Regions from separate parts of the Homo sapiens genome. Here all the other regions are linked to region 1. Evidence: promoter capture Hi-C in 16 types of primary human blood cells and fetal thymus (Javierre and others, 2016). All regions are on one chromosome and are shown on one strand. Each heading gives the region's core, a stretch centred on a gene start or on the middle of the fragment in contact. The rest is flanking DNA. Distances are from core to core; before and after follow the strand shown.

What was found. The method cuts DNA at HindIII sites, captures the fragments that hold promoters and counts their contacts. A CHiCAGO score of 5 or more calls a contact.
Region 2: a contact is called between a fragment that was not itself captured here and the fragment with the promoter of PEX12 in region 1, in 1 of 17 cell types (naive CD4 T cells). The highest score is 5.3, in naive CD4 T cells.
Region 3: a fragment that was not itself captured here is called in contact with the fragment with the promoter of PEX12 in region 1 in 6 of 17 cell types (naive CD4 T cells, total CD8 T cells, activated CD4 T cells and 3 more); the score reaches 11.9 in naive CD4 T cells.
Region 4: a contact is called between a fragment that was not itself captured here and the fragment with the promoter of PEX12 in region 1, in 11 of 17 cell types (naive CD4 T cells, activated CD4 T cells, total CD4 T cells and 8 more). The highest score is 18.0, in naive CD4 T cells.
Region 5: a fragment that was not itself captured here is called in contact with the fragment with the promoter of PEX12 in region 1 in 1 of 17 cell types (total CD8 T cells); the score reaches 5.5 in total CD8 T cells.
Region 6: a contact is called between a fragment that was not itself captured here and the fragment with the promoter of PEX12 in region 1, in 5 of 17 cell types (naive CD4 T cells, activated CD4 T cells, total CD8 T cells and 2 more). The highest score is 11.5, in naive CD4 T cells.
Region 7: a contact is called between a fragment that was not itself captured here and the fragment with the promoter of PEX12 in region 1, in 7 of 17 cell types (naive CD4 T cells, total CD8 T cells, non-activated CD4 T cells and 4 more). The highest score is 11.6, in naive CD4 T cells.

The regions. Positions count from the first base shown.
Region 1 is chr17:35,577,321-35,579,993 of GRCh38, reverse strand. It overlaps PEX12 (peroxisomal biogenesis factor 12), which reads left to right and starts at 1,423. Exons shown (of 3, transcript NM_000286.3): 1 at 1,423-2,098; 2 at 2,403-2,673. The coding sequence starts at 1,973. RefSeq lists an enhancer at 1,344-2,159. The HindIII fragment of the contact is 3,440 bases long and covers 176-2,673 here.
Region 2 is chr17:35,104,979-35,107,651 of GRCh38, reverse strand. It overlaps RAD51D (RAD51 paralog D), which reads left to right. Exons shown (of 10, transcript NM_002878.4): 4 at 205-286; 5 at 530-664; 6 at 1,171-1,266. It overlaps RAD51L3-RFFL (RAD51L3-RFFL readthrough), which reads left to right. Exons shown (of 7, transcript NR_037714.1): 2 at 1,171-1,266. Among named protein-coding and RNA genes, the nearest start is that of RAD51D, 14 kb to the left of the region's middle. The HindIII fragment of the contact is 668 bases long and covers 917-1,584 here.
Region 3 is chr17:35,126,535-35,129,207 of GRCh38, reverse strand. It overlaps FNDC8 (fibronectin type III domain containing 8), which reads right to left. Exons shown (of 4, transcript NM_017559.4): 2 at 1,791-2,166. NLE1 (notchless homolog 1) reads left to right here. Exons shown (of 13, transcript NM_018096.5): 13 at 1-478. Among named protein-coding and RNA genes, the nearest start is that of FNDC8, 6.3 kb to the right of the region's middle. The HindIII fragment of the contact is 470 bases long and covers 1,078-1,547 here.
Region 4 is chr17:35,178,716-35,181,388 of GRCh38, reverse strand. It overlaps UNC45B (unc-45 myosin chaperone B), which reads right to left. Exons shown (of 20, transcript NM_001267052.2): 18 at 713-830. Among named protein-coding and RNA genes, the nearest start is that of SLC35G3, 14 kb to the left of the region's middle. The HindIII fragment of the contact is 8,641 bases long and covers 1-2,673 here.
Region 5 is chr17:35,194,966-35,197,638 of GRCh38, reverse strand. No RefSeq gene overlaps it. Among named protein-coding and RNA genes, the nearest start is that of SLC35G3, 1.9 kb to the right of the region's middle. The HindIII fragment of the contact is 550 bases long and covers 976-1,525 here.
Region 6 is chr17:35,228,942-35,231,614 of GRCh38, reverse strand. No RefSeq gene overlaps it. Among named protein-coding and RNA genes, the nearest start is that of SLFN5, 13 kb to the left of the region's middle. The HindIII fragment of the contact is 3,355 bases long and covers 1-2,673 here.
Region 7 is chr17:35,271,681-35,274,353 of GRCh38, reverse strand. SLFN5 (schlafen family member 5) reads right to left here. Exons shown (of 5, transcript NM_144975.4): 5 at 699-2,673. Among named protein-coding and RNA genes, the nearest start is that of SLFN5, 30 kb to the right of the region's middle. The HindIII fragment of the contact is 1,255 bases long and covers 741-1,995 here.

The DNA of each region.
Region 1 (2,673 bases), core at 174-2,673:
TTTTGTGAGCTACTCCATACACTTCTAATAAATTCCGTTTTAGTTTAAATTAGCCTGTTTGTTTCTGTTGCTTGTAACCAAAGATCCCTAAGTGACAAAAATGTTTAATTTCCTGCTTGATTTAGTTGATGCTACCTCTCAACTTTGTATTTTTGCTATTCACTTAAGAAAAGCTTGTACATAACAGTTACTATTAAACAAGCACCTAATATGTATCCAGGTGCTTCATATGGATAAACTATGTCTAGTCTTAAAACTCTGTAAGGTAAAAATCATATATCAATATAATGTCTTTTGGTAGAGTAAAAAACACTTTTTATAACTATAATTAAGGACAATTTGTAAGGTTTTCTCTCCTATTGGAATAACTAAATCCAAACCTTGTTTTTGAGGGTTCTCATTATGCAAACCAATTATTTTTATAACATAAGGGCCTCTAGGGCAGTAAACAATACCTTCTATTCCCAGCTATTTAGCCCAGAGGTGGCACTTCCCAGAGGAAGGGAGGAGAGGTGGAACTCTCATCCAAATTCAATAAGGCTGTGTCAGCCAACTTCAGCGAGACAAAGCTGTACATAACATAAAAGCACTTTACAAACCTTAAGGTAAATCACATTCATTTTGGTATAAAAACGGCATGAAAGGAAACTTTCTGTCAAGTGTCCCCAGTGCATGCTAGTTACAATTCATAAAGCTCCCTCTGCGTTAGTACTGTATTCATATCGCTGGTGGTGACATATACAACTGTGTTCAAGGATGGAGACCATTTTCATCCAGTATAGCAAGTGCATGCAGTTATGCTTGAATATAGCCAAAACCTGGAAGACGTTAAACTACCAGCTTGGATGAAAATTAACCGTCTCAAGTACTGAGGAACAAGCATGAACCTTTCTCAATCCAATCATCTTTCCTTATAATTGGCGGCAATAAATCTAAGGCTCCTATCTCCTGCTATGTCGCTTTAAATCATTTCTGGAAGGCTAAGACATATAAATTAACCACCATCCCTGCCGCACGCGTACAGCAAAGTCCTTTCCACCTCCAGATTCCCTTCCTCCCACCGCCCCTAGCTTCATCGCCTGCAGGAACACAGGGCTCAGCAACGGGCCCGAGCTCTGGCTCCCGGCGCCAGACGTCTGCGCGGTGCCCCAAACAGCTTGTCAAAAAGACCTCGCAGAGAGAGGTTCAGAGCTGTAGCTTTCCAGCGAGGCTACCATGCAGACCCAGCTACGAAAAGTAAACCAAACTAGCCAAAACCAGCCCACAAGGGCCCTCTTCTGTTTCAGCGGGGCGGGAGCGGAAGCTCAGGTGGGTCATAGAGTTCTCTAGTTCTGGTTTCCGGACCGCATTCGGAACTAGAGCGCCTCTCTTCCGCCAGGCATCCCAGAGGTCCTGGTGGTTTCATTTCCGGGTGCGGCTTCTGTCATAAAGCGGAGACCTCCCTTCAAACGTGGCGTCGTGGGTTGTTTGCGCCTCGCCTGGGGTCAGCGAGCAAGGACGGGCGCGGGCGGGGATACTCAAAGCCAACAGCTGGAGTCAGCCCTTGTGTCCCGGGCTCACAGTGGCACGACTGAATCCTCAGAGTCGGCTGGCTTTTGAGCTCTCACGATTGGGGAGGAGGGGGCGTTTCTGGTTCGCAGCTCCAGAGGATTGCGTTCCTTCCCCCATACCTGTCCCCCACAGTCACGCTCTGCCCTGACGTGCAGCATTTGACAAGTTACCCCCTCGCCACATACTACTTCCACCCACGTCCGAGTTAACTTTGTTCTTAACCTTCTTGAGACTACCCTCGGCCTCCAGGTCTTTTTTTCCCAGTTCATTTTTGCCCATAAGATTGAGTTTCGAGTTTCAGATATCATGCAGAAAGTTTACCTTTAAGACTGAGCACCCATCTGATACTCTTCCTCCCGAAAAAGTTCATGCTCACGAGAGAGTTTGTGGGAAAAGTGAAAGCCAGTACACGCAGGAAACTATGGCTGAGCACGGGGCTCACTTCACAGCTGCTTCTGTGGCCGATGACCAGCCATCCATCTTTGAGGTGGTAGCACAGGACAGTTTAATGACAGCAGTGAGACCCGCTCTTCAGCATGTGGTCAAGGTAAGGTATTAATTCTTGGAAAGGTTTTAGGGACAACTGGGTAAAAAACAAACGAATAATTTGTGCTTATTTGGTAGCCTAGCGTTTGAAATAGCCAATTTGCAAATAACTTGTATCCCATGACTTAAGAGTTACTGAGTCTCTGTTATGTGTAGAGACCTGTACTGAATACCCAGCATTTCAGGGTCCAACAGTGACTTATTTAAAACAAATTGTGTAGACTTTAGAGGAAAAGGGGGAATGTAAATAGGTGTAGAACTTGTGTAATGGAATGAATTTCACTTATTGCTTTATTTTGCTTTAGGTTCTTGCAGAATCAAATCCCACCCACTATGGCTTCTTGTGGAGGTGGTTTGATGAAATCTTTACTCTGCTAGATCTTCTGCTCCAGCAACATTATCTGTCTAGAACCAGTGCCTCATTTTCTGAAAACTTTTACGGCTTAAAGAGAATTGTAATGGGGGACACTCACAAGTCTCAGAGATTGGCTAGTGCTGGTCTCCCAAAGCAGCAGCTTTGGAAATCTATTATGTTCCTGGTTCTTCTTCCCTATCTGAAAGTGAAGCTGGAGAAGC
Region 2 (2,673 bases), core at 1-2,500, 470 kb after region 1:
AGTGGAGGGATGAAGAGAGACCAGAGAAGGCACATTTGGGCATTCCCTCCTTACCAGAAGAAAACACCAGGAGAAGCCTCCTGGCCAGTGATGTTCAAAGACAGAACCAGTGCTTGAAAGAAATGTCTTACTTTTCTTCTTGGTACCTTTTCCCCTGTCTTCCTCCTAACCTCTTGTGTTGATTTTCTTCTCTTCTGCCATCAGTCTTGATAAACTGCTTGATGCTGGTCTCTATACTGGAGAAGTGACTGAAATTGTAGGAGGCCCAGGTAGCGGCAAAACTCAGGTACATGTGAGGCCAGCAGTCAGGAGGATTTAGGGGTGAGGGTGGTAGATGCATAGCCCAGGGTCCCTGGGGGAGCTTCAGCGTACTAATGGGTTCAGAGCCCAACAGAGAGAAGATGGGTAATAAGGAATGGGGTCGGGACTCAGCCCATTTGTGTTGCTGGAATCTGGGCAAGGTTTGGTGGGGAGCTCCCATCTGGACCCTCTCTGAAGTGTCAAGTTCATCCAATGCCCCCACCCCCAGGTATGTCTCTGTATGGCAGCAAATGTGGCCCATGGCCTGCAGCAAAACGTCCTATATGTAGATTCCAATGGAGGGCTGACAGCTTCCCGCCTCCTCCAGCTGCTTCAGGCTAAAACCCAGGATGAGGAGGAACAGGTAAGGGCAGGATGCTGGGTTCCATTGAGATTCTGACACAGGAAAACCCCATTATCCCTTAACATTGTAAGAATTTGGGTTGAATAGTCATTCCTTGCCTTCAAACTTGCTGTTCTATTAATACATCTCGTATTCCTTAAGCCACCCCTGTTGATGCCATCATCCCATTTGGGATGCTACTCACACTGATTCTTCCAGGAAACCCTCCCAACTCTTTGCATGCCCTAAACCAGGGCTGGCAAACACCAAGCTTTGTGTTTCCAGTCCATTTCTCACCTGTGAGAGACATCACTAATCAGTCATATCCCTCTTTCCTGCTGAGTTCTGAGTACTTTACAGCTCAGCACCCAGGCAGCCACCACTGTGACAACTGACCATTAGACAAAGCTCATTTGCCACCCTGGACCTGAGTCCTTGCATCCAGGTGCCTCTTCCTTCTCAGCCTTACCTTGACCCCCCTACTCCCTCTTATCCAAAGTCCTTGCTTTTCTTTTCCACCGCTTCAGGCAGAAGCTCTCCGGAGGATCCAGGTGGTGCATGCATTTGACATCTTCCAGATGCTGGATGTGCTGCAGGAGCTCCGAGGCACTGTGGCCCAGCAGGTGAGCCTGCTGTTCTGCCCCTCCTTGCTTAATTCAGCTTTCTAGGTGCTATCTCTGTGGGCAGGTGTCCTACTACAGACTGTTTGGAAATGCAGATGTGCAATCTGGTGACTCCAACTATGCTTGCTACTCCCAGGATGGAATTCCCGAGCACCTAAATCACATACCTCATTGTTTACATGTTCATCTTCCCTGCTGAACAGTAAAGCCCCCTGAGTGGAAGGATCATGTCATATTTATGTCTGCATTCCCCACTAGGTGAGTGAGGAATACTTTTAGCTGCAAGTAATAGAGGTTGTCTGACAGAGACTTGAAGCTTGAGGACATTTAATTATGTCACATGAGTTGGGAGGTTGGCAGGTCCATGCTATCAGGGCAATAGATTTGTGTGTCTGATTTTCTTGTTCTTCCCCTCATGGTTGCAAAGAGGCTGCCAAAGCTCCAAGCATCTTGTCTTCACACATCCACATCCATATTCAAGGCAGTAAAAGATAGATGGTTCTTTTCTGTACCTCCTCCCTTTTATCAGGGATGAAGAATCTTTCTCCAGAGCCCACTAATAGACGTCCCTCTTCCCCTTACATCTAGTTGGCCAAAATGGGGTTATGTGTGTATCTTGGACTAAGACCTGGGCCCACCATCCCTGAAGTCAGATTTCTGCCCAGTCGCTGAACACATTCAGAGTCATGTTAATGGGAAGGATTTAGAATGGCATTTGGGTTGGCACTTTGCTACTCATGTTGGGTGCTTAGACAGGATTTGGTGCACTGATTTATAAATGACTAGATGTGGAGGATACCTTAAAGATAGAATAGTTTATCTCAAACTTTTCCTCTCACCCCAAAGCATGACGTGTTCACACGGGCATCCCCACGACTATATATAAAGTCAATGATTTTTACAAACTTTAGAACATATAATAGTTGAACAAGCTGGGAGTGGTGGCCCACACCTGTAATCCTAATGACTCCAGAGGCTGAGACGGGAGGATTGCTTGAGCCTAGCAGTTGGAGGTTGCAGTGAGCTATGATCATACCACTGTACCTTAGCCTGGTCAGCAGAGCTAGACCCCGTCTTTAAAAAAAAATGTTGAACAAATACTTACCTCAGAAGTCATAGCTGGTTATGACCCACCAGCTTGTTGAGACATGAAGCTGAGTAGTGCTTACCTCACTTTTAGAGATGAGAAGAGTGAAGGCCGGAGAAGTGAAGTGAGTTGACCAAAGTTGACCAAATATTTAGGGCAAGAACTAACCTTATAGCCCAAACCTCTCAATTCCAGATCAGAAGACTGTATTTTTTACTGTAGGACCATTAGATGATATATCTTCTATTATTGCATAATAAGTTACCAAAACCTTAGTGGCTTAAGACATAGTATTTCTTATCTCACAGTTTCTAGGGGTT
Region 3 (2,673 bases), core at 63-2,562, 450 kb after region 1:
GGGTACACCCTCATTCCATATTTCTTATACGCCAGGGGTCCTCAACCCTTGGGCCACCAACTGATAGCAGTCCATGGCCTGTTAGGAACTGGATAGCACAGCAGGAGGAGATTGGTGGGCGAGCAAGCGAAGCTTCATCTGTATTTACAGCTGCTCCCCACGGCTCAGGGTACCACCTGAGCTCTGCCTCCTGTCAGATCAGCAGAGGCATTAGATTCCCATAGGCACGTGAACCCTATTGTGAATTGTATGGGAGGGATCTAAGTTGAATGCTCCTTATGAGAATCTAATGCCTGATGATCTGTCATTGTCTCCCATCACCCCCAAATGGGACCCTCTCGTTGCAGGAAAACAAGCTCAGGGCTCCCACAGTTTCTACATTATGGTGAGTTGTATAATTATTTCATTATATATTACAATGTAATAATAATAGAAATAAAGTACACAATAAATGTAATATGCTTGACTCATCCTGAAACCATCCCCCCAACCGGATCCATGGAAAAATTATCTTCCATGAAACCAGTCCCTGGTGCCAAAAAGGTTGGTTCTAGACTCTGTCTAGACTCTGTTAGCTGAGAGGGACCTTAGAGATCATCTTATCGACTAGGTCCAGAGAGGGCAAGTGACTGGTCCATCATCATACGGCAATTAAGTGACAGCCAGTGTTCAAACCCATAGCTCCAGAGCCCATACACTTTGTACTACAATGGTTGCCAAGCCTGGCTAAGCATCTCAGGGAGATTTTGTAACTGCAGATTTCTGGGCCTGCTGCCTCCTGTCTGGTTTCTCCTCCATCTAGGCCAGTGTTTGTCAAACTTGGTGTGCATTAGAATACCCTGGAGGACTTATTAAAAGATAGATTACTGGGCTCCGCCCCAACAGTTTCTGACTCAGGAGGCCCAAATGTGGTGGAGGGAGATGAGAATTTAAATTTGTAACAATTTGCTGAGTGATGCTGACATTGTCCATCTGGAGAGCACTTTGAGAAACACTGCTCTGGGCCATCCAACAGTGGAATTCCAGGCATCCTCCCAAGATACAGCTCGAATTGCTTTCATCATCTGATGTGAAGCTTTTTACAAAGCTGTTCCCTATTACTTACAGAAAAGTCTATAAAGTAGTCTAACACTGGAGGACTCTGGAAGATGATCCCAGACTAACATTCCCCATCCTGTCCCCTGTCTTCACTTCCCATAGTGTAGGACGGTGTTGTTCGACGTGTAGCCCGCGGACGGGGAGCCACAGCATCCTCTGGGAATCTGTTACTAATGCAAATTATCAGGCTTCACCCTAGACCCTCTAGGGAGGAGGCCCAGCAATTCTGAGTAGCCTCACTCGATCCCAGGTCCTCATCCAGGGCTTCTCACGCTTTCATGTTCCTACAGATCACCTACCATCTTGTTCAAATTGAGATTTCCTCCCTCACTTTCCTGTGAGCTTTTGCTAGGGTCCGCCCCTCCAGGGAATGCCTCCCTCCTCCACCTCTAGATGTTTACATGCTACCTCTACATCCCAGCTCAGATGTTACCAAAAGCCACCAAGCTTATTCCCGCATCTGGAAATATCTTTCCCTCTGAATTCCTGGTGGCACTTGCTCTGAACTTTTCCTACAGCACTGAACCCTTTCTGTCTTGCACTGGAGTTTTTACAGACACATCCTCTCCCTTCCTAAACCGTGAACTTGAGGTCGACATGCAGGTGGCAGGCACCTTCTCACTACCCATGGAGCTCAGCTCAGTGCCTGGCACAATAAGCCTCTGCTGAACGCATGAGCAAGGGAAACGCACCACAGCTGTGGAATTGTTGACGGTGTGCTCAAAGATGAAGGGGGTGTCCGGCAGGTCCACAACCACAGAAGATTCTGAGTGCGTTGAGGAGGTTTCTGTCTCCAGCTCAGGGTTGTCAAGGTCCAGCAGGCCCCTTGTGGCCATCTGGGACTTCGATGGGCATGGGCAGGGGCCGAGCGCCAGGTCCTCATTTTCTGCATTCTTGGCCATTGGGGAGAAGCTGAGTTTGTTCAGCTCCCCCTCCAGCATCCCTGCAAAGAAGCTGCTGTTGGGCTGGGTCACAGCTAATTTGATGGGGTTCAGCAAGGTGGATGAGAAGGCAGAGATGCTGGTCTCATCAGAGCTGCAGTCTGAATCCTCTACTGGCAGCGGCTTCCTGGAGCAAAAGGGGAGACAGGTGAATCAGATGAAGGAGGCCACCCCAGCCCGTTCCACCTGAGGGCAGGCCTTGGGCCTGACTTACCAGCATCCCCAGCCATTTGCAAACAGCTTGGAACAGCCTCATTGCTCTATAGCATTGCATTAGACTCACCAGGGCACTTACTAAAAATGCAGACTTTTAGTCCCTGGTCCCCAGTTAGCATGGGACTAGAGAATCCGCATCTTTAATAAGATCCTGGCTGGGCGCAGTGGCTCACGCCTATAATCCCAGCACTTTGGGAGGCCGAGGCAGGCAGATTCAAGGTCAGGAGTTACAGACCAGCCTGGCCAACATGGTGAAACCCTGTCTCCACTAAAAACACAAAAATTGGCTGAGTGCGGTGGTTGGCACCTGTAATCCTAGCTACTTGGTAGGCTGAGGCAGGAGAATTGCTTGAACCCAGGGGGCAGAAGTTGCAGTGAGCCGAGATCACACCACTGCACTCCAGCCTGGGTGACAGAG
Region 4 (2,673 bases), core at 125-2,624, 400 kb after region 1:
ATTCGGCTTGGCCCTCATGTTAATGAAGGGCCTCAAACTTAGACCCTGCTGTTATCTCTGATAAGATTACACATACAGTCACAGCAGTACTCTGACAGGATGGGGAGAAGAAGACATTCACCAGATGGGTATCATTTGTCCCATGACTGGACCATGAAGCCTACGGCATGTTCTGAATTCATTTTATTTTTATAAACCCTGTAATTATTCTGTGCTGAGTACAGTTATATTGCATTGCAATTTCTATGGGAACAGTGGTAGTTCATTAAATGCTGACATTTGAGACATCCTAAAATGGCTGATAACTGTATTTGGCATTTCTTCATTTTTTTTATATATGTGGAGCTTCAATAAATGCAAGTGGTCTAGCCTTCCTTGACCTCTGAGAGGCCCTGGTCTCATATCCTGCTTTGTTTTAAGGTTATTTGGGCCTAAGTAACTTAGGGAAATGGTGCCTTCCACCTCATCTAGCCCAGGGTCTGGATTGAAAGCCCCAGCTTTGTATTTTTTCCTTTATGCATATCTTTCTCTCAGGGCCCCTACAGGGAGGGGGGCTATAATCTAGGAAATATTTAGGGATTCCTGGATTTTCTGCCCAAAATGCTACCTTAATGCCATCATAAGAGCTCCCGATCTCACCCCAGGCCCTGACCCTGGCCTGCCTCTCGTGCCTTGATCACGCCCGGGTCTCCATCCTGAGCCCCTGCCTCACCTCCTTGTGGAGCACCATGTTGCACATGCACTCGGTGGCCGCCTGCCGCAGCTGATCATGATTCTCAAACATGTAGTTCTCGATGTCTGGCAAGGCCCTCTCCTTAAAGATCTTCTGCCTAGGGTAGGAGGGTGGAGGAAGAAAGACCCTTGAGTCTTCTGCCGTGACCATAGGGGTTTTCTGGCCACCCAGGGACCATTCTTCCATTCTGGTGCTGTCCTTCCCACATCCTCAGCCAGCATGGTTTATGTGGCATCACACTGCCCCCAGCTCTAGGAGGGGCACCATGGGCCTCAACTAAATTGTATAGCATGGCATCCTGGCCACAGCAGTGGGTTCTGGATATCACCCAACTGGAGAGCCTCTGTATTATTGCAGTAAAGAAATTCTCTCTCTCTCTCTCTCTCTCTCTCTCTCTCTCTCATCCTGGATGTAGATCCAAGAAGATGTGAAGGCCAGAACTGCCCTTATAACCATGAGAGAGCAGAAAAGCCCATTGAGAATTAAAGCAATACAGAAAGGAGAGGAGAGACAGAGAGAACAGGAACCTAAGGCAGCTTTGTAAGCCCTGCATCAAGCCACACCTGAATCTTGTTACCCCAGACTTTTTATCTACATGAGCCAATAAATTTCCTTTATGCTTAGGCCTATTATAGTTAAGTTTTCTGCTACTGGCAACCAAAAGAATCCCAACCCAGTACATGCTGACATACTCCTGCTTCCAAAGAGGAATACATTTTATCCCACTATCCACCTGGATATCTTTTTTTTTTTAATACTTTAAGTTCTAGGGTACATGTGCACAACGTGCAGGTTTGTTACATAGGTATACATGTGCGTGCCATGTTGGCTTGCTGCGCCCATCAACTCGTCATTTACATTAGGGTATTTCTCCTAATGTTATCCCTCCCCCAGCTCCCCACCCCCAACAGGCCCCGGTGTGTGATGTTCCCCGCCCTGTGTCCATGTGTTCTCATTGTTCAACTCCCACCTACGAGTGAGAACATGCGGTGTTTGGTTTTCTGTCCTTGTGGTAGTTTGCTCAGAATGATGGTTTCCAGTTTCATCTATGTCCCTGCAAAGGACATGAACTCATCCTTTTTTATGGCTGCATAGTATTCCATGGTGCATATGTGTCACATTTTCTTAATCCAATCTATCATTGATGGACATTTGGGTTGGTTCCAAGTCTTTGCTATTGTGAATAGTGCCACAATAAACATACGTGTGCATGTGTCTTTATAGTAGCATGATTTATAGTCCTTTGGGTATATACCCAGCAATGGGATTGCTGGGTCAAATGTTATTTCTAGTTCTAGATCCTTGAGAGCCAAATCATGAGTGAACTCCCATTCACAACTGCTACCAACAGAATAAAATACCTAGGAATCCAATTTACAAGGGATGTGAAGGACCTCTTCAAGGAGAACTACAAACCACTGCTCAACAAAATAAAAGAGGACACAAACAAATGGAAGAACATTCCATGCTCATGGATTGGAAGAATCAATATCATGAAAATGGCCATACTGCCCAAGATAGTTTATGGATTCAATGCCATTCCCATGAAGCTACCAATGACTTTCTTCACAGAATTGGAAAAAACTACTTTAAAGTTCATATGGAACCAAGAAAGAGCAGGCATAGCCAAGACAACCCTAAGCAAAAAGAACAAAGCTGGAGGCATCATCAGGGTCAGGTATCACGCTACCTGACTTCAAACTATACTACAAGGCTACAGTAACCAAAACAGCATGGTACTGGTACCAAAACAGATATATAGACCAATGGAACAGAACAGAGGCCTCAGAAATAACACCACACATCTACAACCATCTGATCTTTGACAAACCTGACAAAAACAAGAAATGATGAAAGGATTCCCTATTTAATAAATAGTGCTGGGAAAACTAGCTAGCCATATGTAGAAAGCTGAAACTGGATCCCTTCCTTACACCTTA
Region 5 (2,673 bases), core at 1-2,500, 380 kb after region 1:
GGGAGGCCAAGGTGGAAGAACTGCTTGAGCCGAGGAGTTCACCTCTACCAAAAAAAAAAAAATTTTTTTACCAGGTTTGTCAATGCATGCCTGAGGTACCAGCTACTCCAGGAGCTGAGGTAGGAGGATTGCTTGTTTGGGCTCAGGAGTTTGAGGCTGCAGTGAGCCATGATTGTGACATTCATTCCAGCCTGGGAAAGAGAATGAAACCATGCCTCAAAAAAAAACAAAAAACATTAAAATTCATACAAAACTGCAAAAAAAAAAAAAAAAAAAAAGCCAAGGCAATCGTGAGCAAAAAGAAAAAAAGCTGGAGATATTTGCTTCAGAGCTCTCTGAAGTTGAAAAAACTGGAGGTATCACACTATCTGATTTTAAACTATACTACAAAGCTATACTAATTAAAATAGTATGAAATAATCGCTTCTCTGCCTTTTGGCTAAGATCAAGTAAGTGTAAAACAGCATGGAATTGGCAAAAAAGAAAAAGACACATCAACCAATGGAACAGAATAGAAAGCCCAGAGATGAATCTGATTTTCAACAAATATGCCAAGAAGAAAAAGACCGCTTTTTTCAATAAATGGTGTAGGGAAAACTGAATTTCCACATGCAGAAAAAGAAAATTGGACCCTTATTTCAACACCATATACAAAAGTTAGTTCAAAATGGATTACATACTTAAACATTCCTGCATTAGTTTGCTCAGGAAAATTGCCAACAAAAAAAAAAAAAAAAAAAAAAAAAGGAAAGAAAGAAAAAAAAGAGACCTTTAAGACCAAGAACCTAAAACTGCTAGAAGAAAACATAGGGGATCAGCTGACAGCCTCCTTTAAAAAAAAAAAAAAAAAAGAAAGAAAACATAGGGGAAACATACAAGACATTGGTCTGGGTAATGATTTTTTGGATTTGTTCCCAAAAGCACAGACAACAAAATTAAATATAGACAAATGGTATCATATCAAAGTAAAAAGCTTCTTGGTTCATGATGTGTAGCTAAAACAAACAAACTAAAAACCTTCTGCACAGCAAACAATCAACAGAGTAAAGAGATAACCTATGGAATGGGAGAAAATATTTGCAAGCCAGACATCTGATAAGGGGTTAATATCCAACACATATAAAGAGCTCAAACAACTCAATAGCAACAAAACAAAACAAAAAAGCAATTAAGACCTGCTTTCTGCTGACCAAGTCTTCTTCCTTACCCCTCCCTAATAAGAAGAAAAAAAGGCAATTAAAAGATGGGTAACTCCTCCTTAGTATAGTGGTAAAATTTAAACATTAAAAAAGTTTTGGGACCAGTCTGGTCACTCACACCTGTAATCCCAGCACTTTCGAAGGCCAAGGTGGGCAGATTGCCTGAGCCCAGGAGTTCAAGACTAGCCTGGGCAACATAATAAAACACTGTCTCTACAAAAAAAAAAAAAAAATTAGCTGGGCTTGAGCCATGTTTGTGTCACTGCACTTGAGCCTGGGTGAGAGAGCGAGACCCTGTCTCAAAAAAAAAAAAAAAAAAAAAAGCTTTAAGTTGTAAAAAAAAGTGGGTAAGATCAAAAGAAGAGAAGGAAAGAAAACAATGTATAAGATACCTGAGCTCTCCCTCTCCCTCTCCCTCTCCCCACGGTCTCCGTTTCCCTGTCTTTCCACGGTCTCCCTCTGATGCGGAGCCGAAGCTGGACTGTACTGCTGCCATCTCGGCTCACTGCAACCTCCCTGCCTGATTCTCCTGCCTCAGCCTGCGATTGCAGGTGCGCACCGCCACGCCTGACTGGTTTTCGTATTTTTTTGGTGGAGACGGGGTTTCGCTGTGTTGGCCAGGCTGGTCTCCAGCTCCTAACCACGAGTGATCTGCCAACCTCGGCCTCCCGAGGTGCCGGGATTGCAGACGGAGTCTCATTCACTCAGTGCTCAATGTTGCCCAGGCTGGAGAGCAGTGGCGTGATCTCGGCTAGCTACAACCTCCACCTCCCAGCCGCCTGCCTTGGCCTCCCAAAGTGCCGAGATTGCAGCCTCTGCCCAGCCGCCACCCCGCCTGGGAAGTGAGGAGCGTCTCCGCCTGGCCGCCCATTGTCTGGGATGTGAGGAGCCCCTCTGCCCGGCTGCCCAGTCTGGGAAGTGAGGAGCGCCTCTTCCCGGCCGCCATCCCATCTAGGAAGTGAGGAGCGCCTCTTCCCGGCCGCCATCCCGTCTAGGAAGTGAGGAGCGTCTCTGCCCGGGGGCCCATCGTCTGAGATGTGGGGAGCGCCTCTGCCTGGCCGCGACCCCATCTGGGAGGTGAGGAGCGTCTCTGCCCGGCCGCCCCATCTGAGAAGTGAGGAGCCCCTCCGCCCCGCAGCTGCCCCATCTGAGAAGTGAGGAGCCCCTCCGCCCGGCAGCCGCCCCGTCTGAGAAGTGAGGAGCCCCTCCACCCGGCAGCCGCCCCGTCTGGGAAGTGAGGAGCTTCTCTGCCCGGCAGCCGCCCCGTCCAGGAGGGAGGTGGGGGGCAGCCCCCGCCGGGCAAGCTGCCCCGTCTGGGAGGGAGGTGGGGGGTCAGCCCCCGCCCGGCCGCTGCCCCGTCCGGGAGGTGGGGGGCACCGCTGCCCGGCCGCCCCTTCTGGGAAGTGAGGAGCCCCTCTGCCCGGCCACCACCCCGTCTGGGAGGTGTACCCAACAGCTCATTGAGAACGGGCCA
Region 6 (2,673 bases), core at 50-2,549, 350 kb after region 1:
TAGATAGATAGATAGACAGACAGGCAGGCAGAGTGAGAAAGAAAGTGAGAATGGTAAAACAAATATATATAATGTTTTGTGGGGAGAATGAATAGGAGTTTTTTGTAGTATTCTTACGACTTTTCCATAAGTTTGAAATTATCAAAAATAAAAAATGTTTAAAACATTCTGAAGACATACATTCAGCCAACAATCATATGAAAAAAGCTCTACATCACTGATCATTAGAGAAATGCAAATCAAAACCACAATGAGCTATCATCTAACACCAGTCAGAATGGCCATTATTAAAAAGTCAAAAAATAACAGATGCTGGTGAGGTTGTGGAGAAAAAGGAACACTTATACAGTTGGTGGTAGTGTAAATTCAGCCATTGTGGAAGACAGTGTGGTGATTCCTCAAAGACATAAAAACAGAAATACCATTCAACCCAGCAATCCTATTACTGGATATATACCCAAAGGAATGTAGATCATTCTATTATACAGACACACACACGTATGTTCATTGCAGCACCACTCACAATAGCGTAGACATGGAATCAACCTAAATGCTCATCAGTAACAGACTGGATAAAGAAAATGTGGTACATATCATGGAATACTATGCAGCCATAACAATGAATGAGATCATGTCCTTTGCAGGGACATGGATGGAGCTGGAGGCCATTATCCTTAGGAAACTAACACAGGAATAGAAAACCAAATACCACATGTTCTCACTTACAAGTGGGAGCTAAATGATGAGAACACATGGACACATAGAGTGGAACAACTGGGGAGTGGAACAACTGGGGAGTGGAACATAGAGTGGAACACACACTGGGGCCTTTTGGAGGGTGGGAGGGTAGGAGGAAGGAGAGGATCAAGAAAAATAACTAATGGGTACTAGGCTTAATACCTGGGTGATGAAATAATCTGTACAACAAACCCCCATGACACAAGTTTACCTATGTAACAAACCTGCACTTATACCCATGAACTTAAAATGTTTTTTTAAAATCTTAAACAACGCTCAGAATCTTGATTGAAAGTCTTAGTGCAAAAGGGCTTGCATAACTAATATGGTTTGGGACTGTGTCCCCACACAAACCTCATGTCAAATTGTAATCCCTAGTGTCGGAGAACGGACATCGTGGGAGGTGATTAGATCAAGGGGGTGGATTTCCCCCATGCTGTTCTCATTATAATGGGTGAGTTGTCCTGAGATCTAGTTGTTTAAAAATGTGTAGCACCTCCCCCTTCCCTCTATTCATCCTGCTCCAGCCATGTAGGATGTGCTGGCTTCCCTTACACCTTCTGCCATGATTGTAAGTTTCCTGAGGTCTCCCCAGCCATGCTTCCTGTGCAGCCTGTGGTACCATGAGCCAATTCAACCTCTTTTCTTTATAAATTACCTAGTCTTAGGTAGTTCTTTATAGCAATGTGAAAACAGATTAATACAATAGCCTTCTTCTTTATCTTGAAACTCATCAAGGACACCAAGGTCATTCCACCCAAATTAAAAGTTTCCCTTTTATCTTCCAAAGTGATTTATAGTAGGAAGATGGAAGGCTGTTTACACTTTTATTGATTGCTTAGTTTTGTTCATATAGTTATACATTTTAAAATTCTTGCAGAATTAGTTTGCTAGGGCTGCCATAACAAAATATAAGACCTGGTGGCTTAAACAACACGAATTCATTTTCTCACAGTTCTAGAGGCTGGAAGTCCAAGATCAAGGTGTCAGCAGATGTTGTTTCTTCTGAGGCCTCTCTTTTTGGCTTGCAGTTGCTGCTTTCTCACTGTGCCCTCACATGATCTCCACTTCATATACATGTGCTTCCCTGGTGTCTCTTCCTCTTCTTAGGAGAATACTGATTGTATTGAATTAGGGCCCCACTCTTATGACCTTAGTTAGCTTTAATTACCTCTTTAAAGGTTCCATCTCTAAATGTATTCACATTTTGAGGTAGTGAGGGTTAGGGATTCAACATACAAATTTTGGGGAAACACAATTCATCCTATAACATAGAGTGTACCATTCTCCCTTTAATAAAGGCTACTTATATCACCACCACCCCCACACATACACCAGAAGGCAACTTTCTCTAAAAGAAAACCACTCTAAGATTCAGTCCTCTGCAGAATAATGTAAATCTCAACTCTTTTGAAAATCTGGTTAATGTTAAGCCTATAATTTTATTTTCATTTTCTTCCAACCTGAACGACTTTTCTTAAAGGGTTCATACATTTAAAGTTTTGCCTATATTTTTGGCTGGGCATGGCGGCTCATGCTGGTAATCCCAGCAGCACTTTGGGAGACTGAAGCGGGCAGATCATTTGAGCTAAGGATTTTGAGACCAGCCATGGCACCAGACATGGCAAAACCTCATATCTATTAAAAATACAAAAATTAGCTGGCCTTGGTGGGGCACTTGTAGTCTCAGCTACTCAGGAGGCTGAAGTGGGAGGATCGCTTGAGCCTGGGAGGTCGAGACTGCAGTGAGCTGTGATCATGCCACTGCACTCCAGCCTGGGTGACAGAGTAAGACCCCATCTCAAAAAATAATAAGAAGAAAATAAAATTTTGGCTAGATTTCCTTCCTTTTTTTCTGGGAGGGTTTTGAGCTTTCTTATGTTAGATTATTATGTACTTGATAGCCTCTTGAAGCTACTGAAAATAGGAGATCTA
Region 7 (2,673 bases), core at 119-2,618, 310 kb after region 1:
ATGGAGTGGGGAGCAGTCATTCAGTCAATAGAAGGCATTTTTTTTTTTTTTGGCAAGGAAGGATAATCCTCTTAGGCACAATGTAGCTGCCTGTCTGAAAGGTATTTGGGGCTCCAGAGTTCTCAGTATCTGCCCAAATATCCTTATGCCGTGTCTCAAGGTCCCACTGCTTCCATACCAGTGCTTTTCCCTTACTGAAAGAGATGTGATGTGGTTGCAGATTTCATTGGCATTGAACTCACCATCCGTTACAATTAGGTCCTTGGCTTGGTGCTCAGTCATATCTGCCCTGCATCTATAGAGGATGAGGGACTTGTCCAAAACTGTCATCAAGGCATTCCAGTTTTCTATGGATATTCTCAGCTGGATAGTTTTTCTTTCAATCTCAATTTTTTCGTTGTCTAAACTTCCTAGAGCTATCGAAAATGCCAATTTACAATCTTTATAATGACTATTGTTGCCATGGAAACTAAATCCCTTTCGAAACTAAATTCATAAACTGGAATTCCCAGTACCTTGTCCTCTACCTTCACTTCATCTTATGCCACCACTAGTGATAGTGTGATCTGATGTGTGTGTGTGTGTGTGTGTGTGTAAAACTAACAGCCTGAAGGATACCCACAAAAGCCATGATAGTTACTGCCTCTGGAGGAAGGGGAGATAAATTGGATGTGAAACAGAAGAAAGAAGAACACAAATTTAATTGCAATATTGCATTTCTTTTATTTAAAAAAAAAGCTTGAAGCAAATATAAAAATGTTAACACTTACATTTTTGTATATATAGACACTTTTTGTATTTTCTACATTTTTCATATGTAAACCCTCCCCACTCTCCACACATCATTATTCATTATGATCATGAGGGGTTTATCCCAGGATATTCATTGATAGAAAATTAAAAGAGTAATTTATAAAATCACTACATGAACAAGTAAAAACACACACAGCAAAATTTACATCAAAATTATTACGTGGTACAGAATCCAAAAGTCATAAAAAGCAAAAGCTATCTTTTTTTCACTCTGGCACCCATCTGTTCTTCCCTGGAGTCAAACACTATTACCAATTTTTAGGTATACTTCCAAAGATACTTACTGCATTTACAAGCACAGACTTATATTGATTCTAAAAGAATAAGAGACATTTTCAGCATGTTGTTTTGTTCAACACCACAGTATATCTTAAAGATGGTCCCCCATCAATACATATAGAGATCTCTCTTTTTTATGGCTTCATAGTATTATCATGTGCTGATATGCCAAAAACTAATCCATTAGACCCTTTTGGGTATATATTTACTATTTTGCAGTCTTCTGCTCTTAGGAATAAAGTGAAATTCAATCACCTGTATAGAAGTATTTCACACGTTTGAATATATATGTAGAATAAATTCCCAAAAGAGAAATTTCTAGAGAAAGAGATATATGCATTCACAATTTTGTTAACTACTGCCGGATTGTTCTCAGTAGAAGATGTACCAATTTACAGCAATGCATGGAAGTGCTTTCCCCCTTAAAGTTTGTTACCAATCTGAGTAATTTTGTCAATTGATACTTCTGCTATCATGAGTAATGTTTCCATATCTTTAGGAGCTATTTTAAATTCTTTTTCTGTATTCTACCACCTGTCAAATCCTTTGCTCATTTTTCCTTTGAGACCTTAGAATTTTTCTCTTCGATTTGTAGAAGCTATTTTTTGAAAATAAGAAATTAACTATTTGGCTGTGATATTCATTGCAATTCTTTTTCCAGTGTGTTGTTTCTTGACCTTTTATGCTGTTTTTGGTACAGAGATAATTTTGTTTAAAATAGTCAATATTTTCCTTCCTGGTTTCTGATTGAGGGCCATACTTAGACCTTCCCCATGCTGAGATTATTATTTTTTTAAGTGCTACTTCTTCTTCATGCACTTCCATGATTCCATATTTTTACTTTTAAAAACTTGGTCCTCCTGGAATTTATTTTGGTATCTAGTCTGGCATATGGCCCAAGCTTAATTTTTTTTAGCTGGGTGACAGAGTTGTTCATCATATATTGAATAATCCATCTTTCCCCAATTAACTTGAATTTAACATATAAAGTTAACATAACTTAACTTTAACATATGCTGTTAATACATTTCAACATGTATTTTAAATTTATTTTTGGCCATTTCATCTTGTTCCATTGACCCTCCACATATCAGCACCACATTGTTTTAATTATTGTAGCTTTATAAGATGTTTTAATATTTGGTCATGCTGACTCACTCAGGTTTCTTCTTTTCTAGATTTTTCTTGGATATTCTTGCCTCGTAGTTTCCAATAATTTTTTTTTTTTTGAGACAGGGTCTCACTCTGGCTGCCCAGACTGGAGTGCAGTGATGTGATTTTGGCTCACTACAGCCTCGACCTCCCAAGGCTTGGGTGATTCTCCCACCTCAGCCTCCCGAGTAGCTAGGACTATAGGTGCACACCACCACACCCAGCTAATTTCTTGCATTTTAAATAGAGACGGGATTTCACCATGTTGTCCAGGCTGGTCTGGAACTCCTGGACTCAGGCAATCCACCTGCCTCGGCCTCTCAAAGTGCTGGGATTACAGGAGTGAGCCACCATGCTTGGCCTTCATTAAATTTTAAAATCATTTCAATGCTATTGGGGAAAACCTGTTGGCATTTTTATTGGGATTAC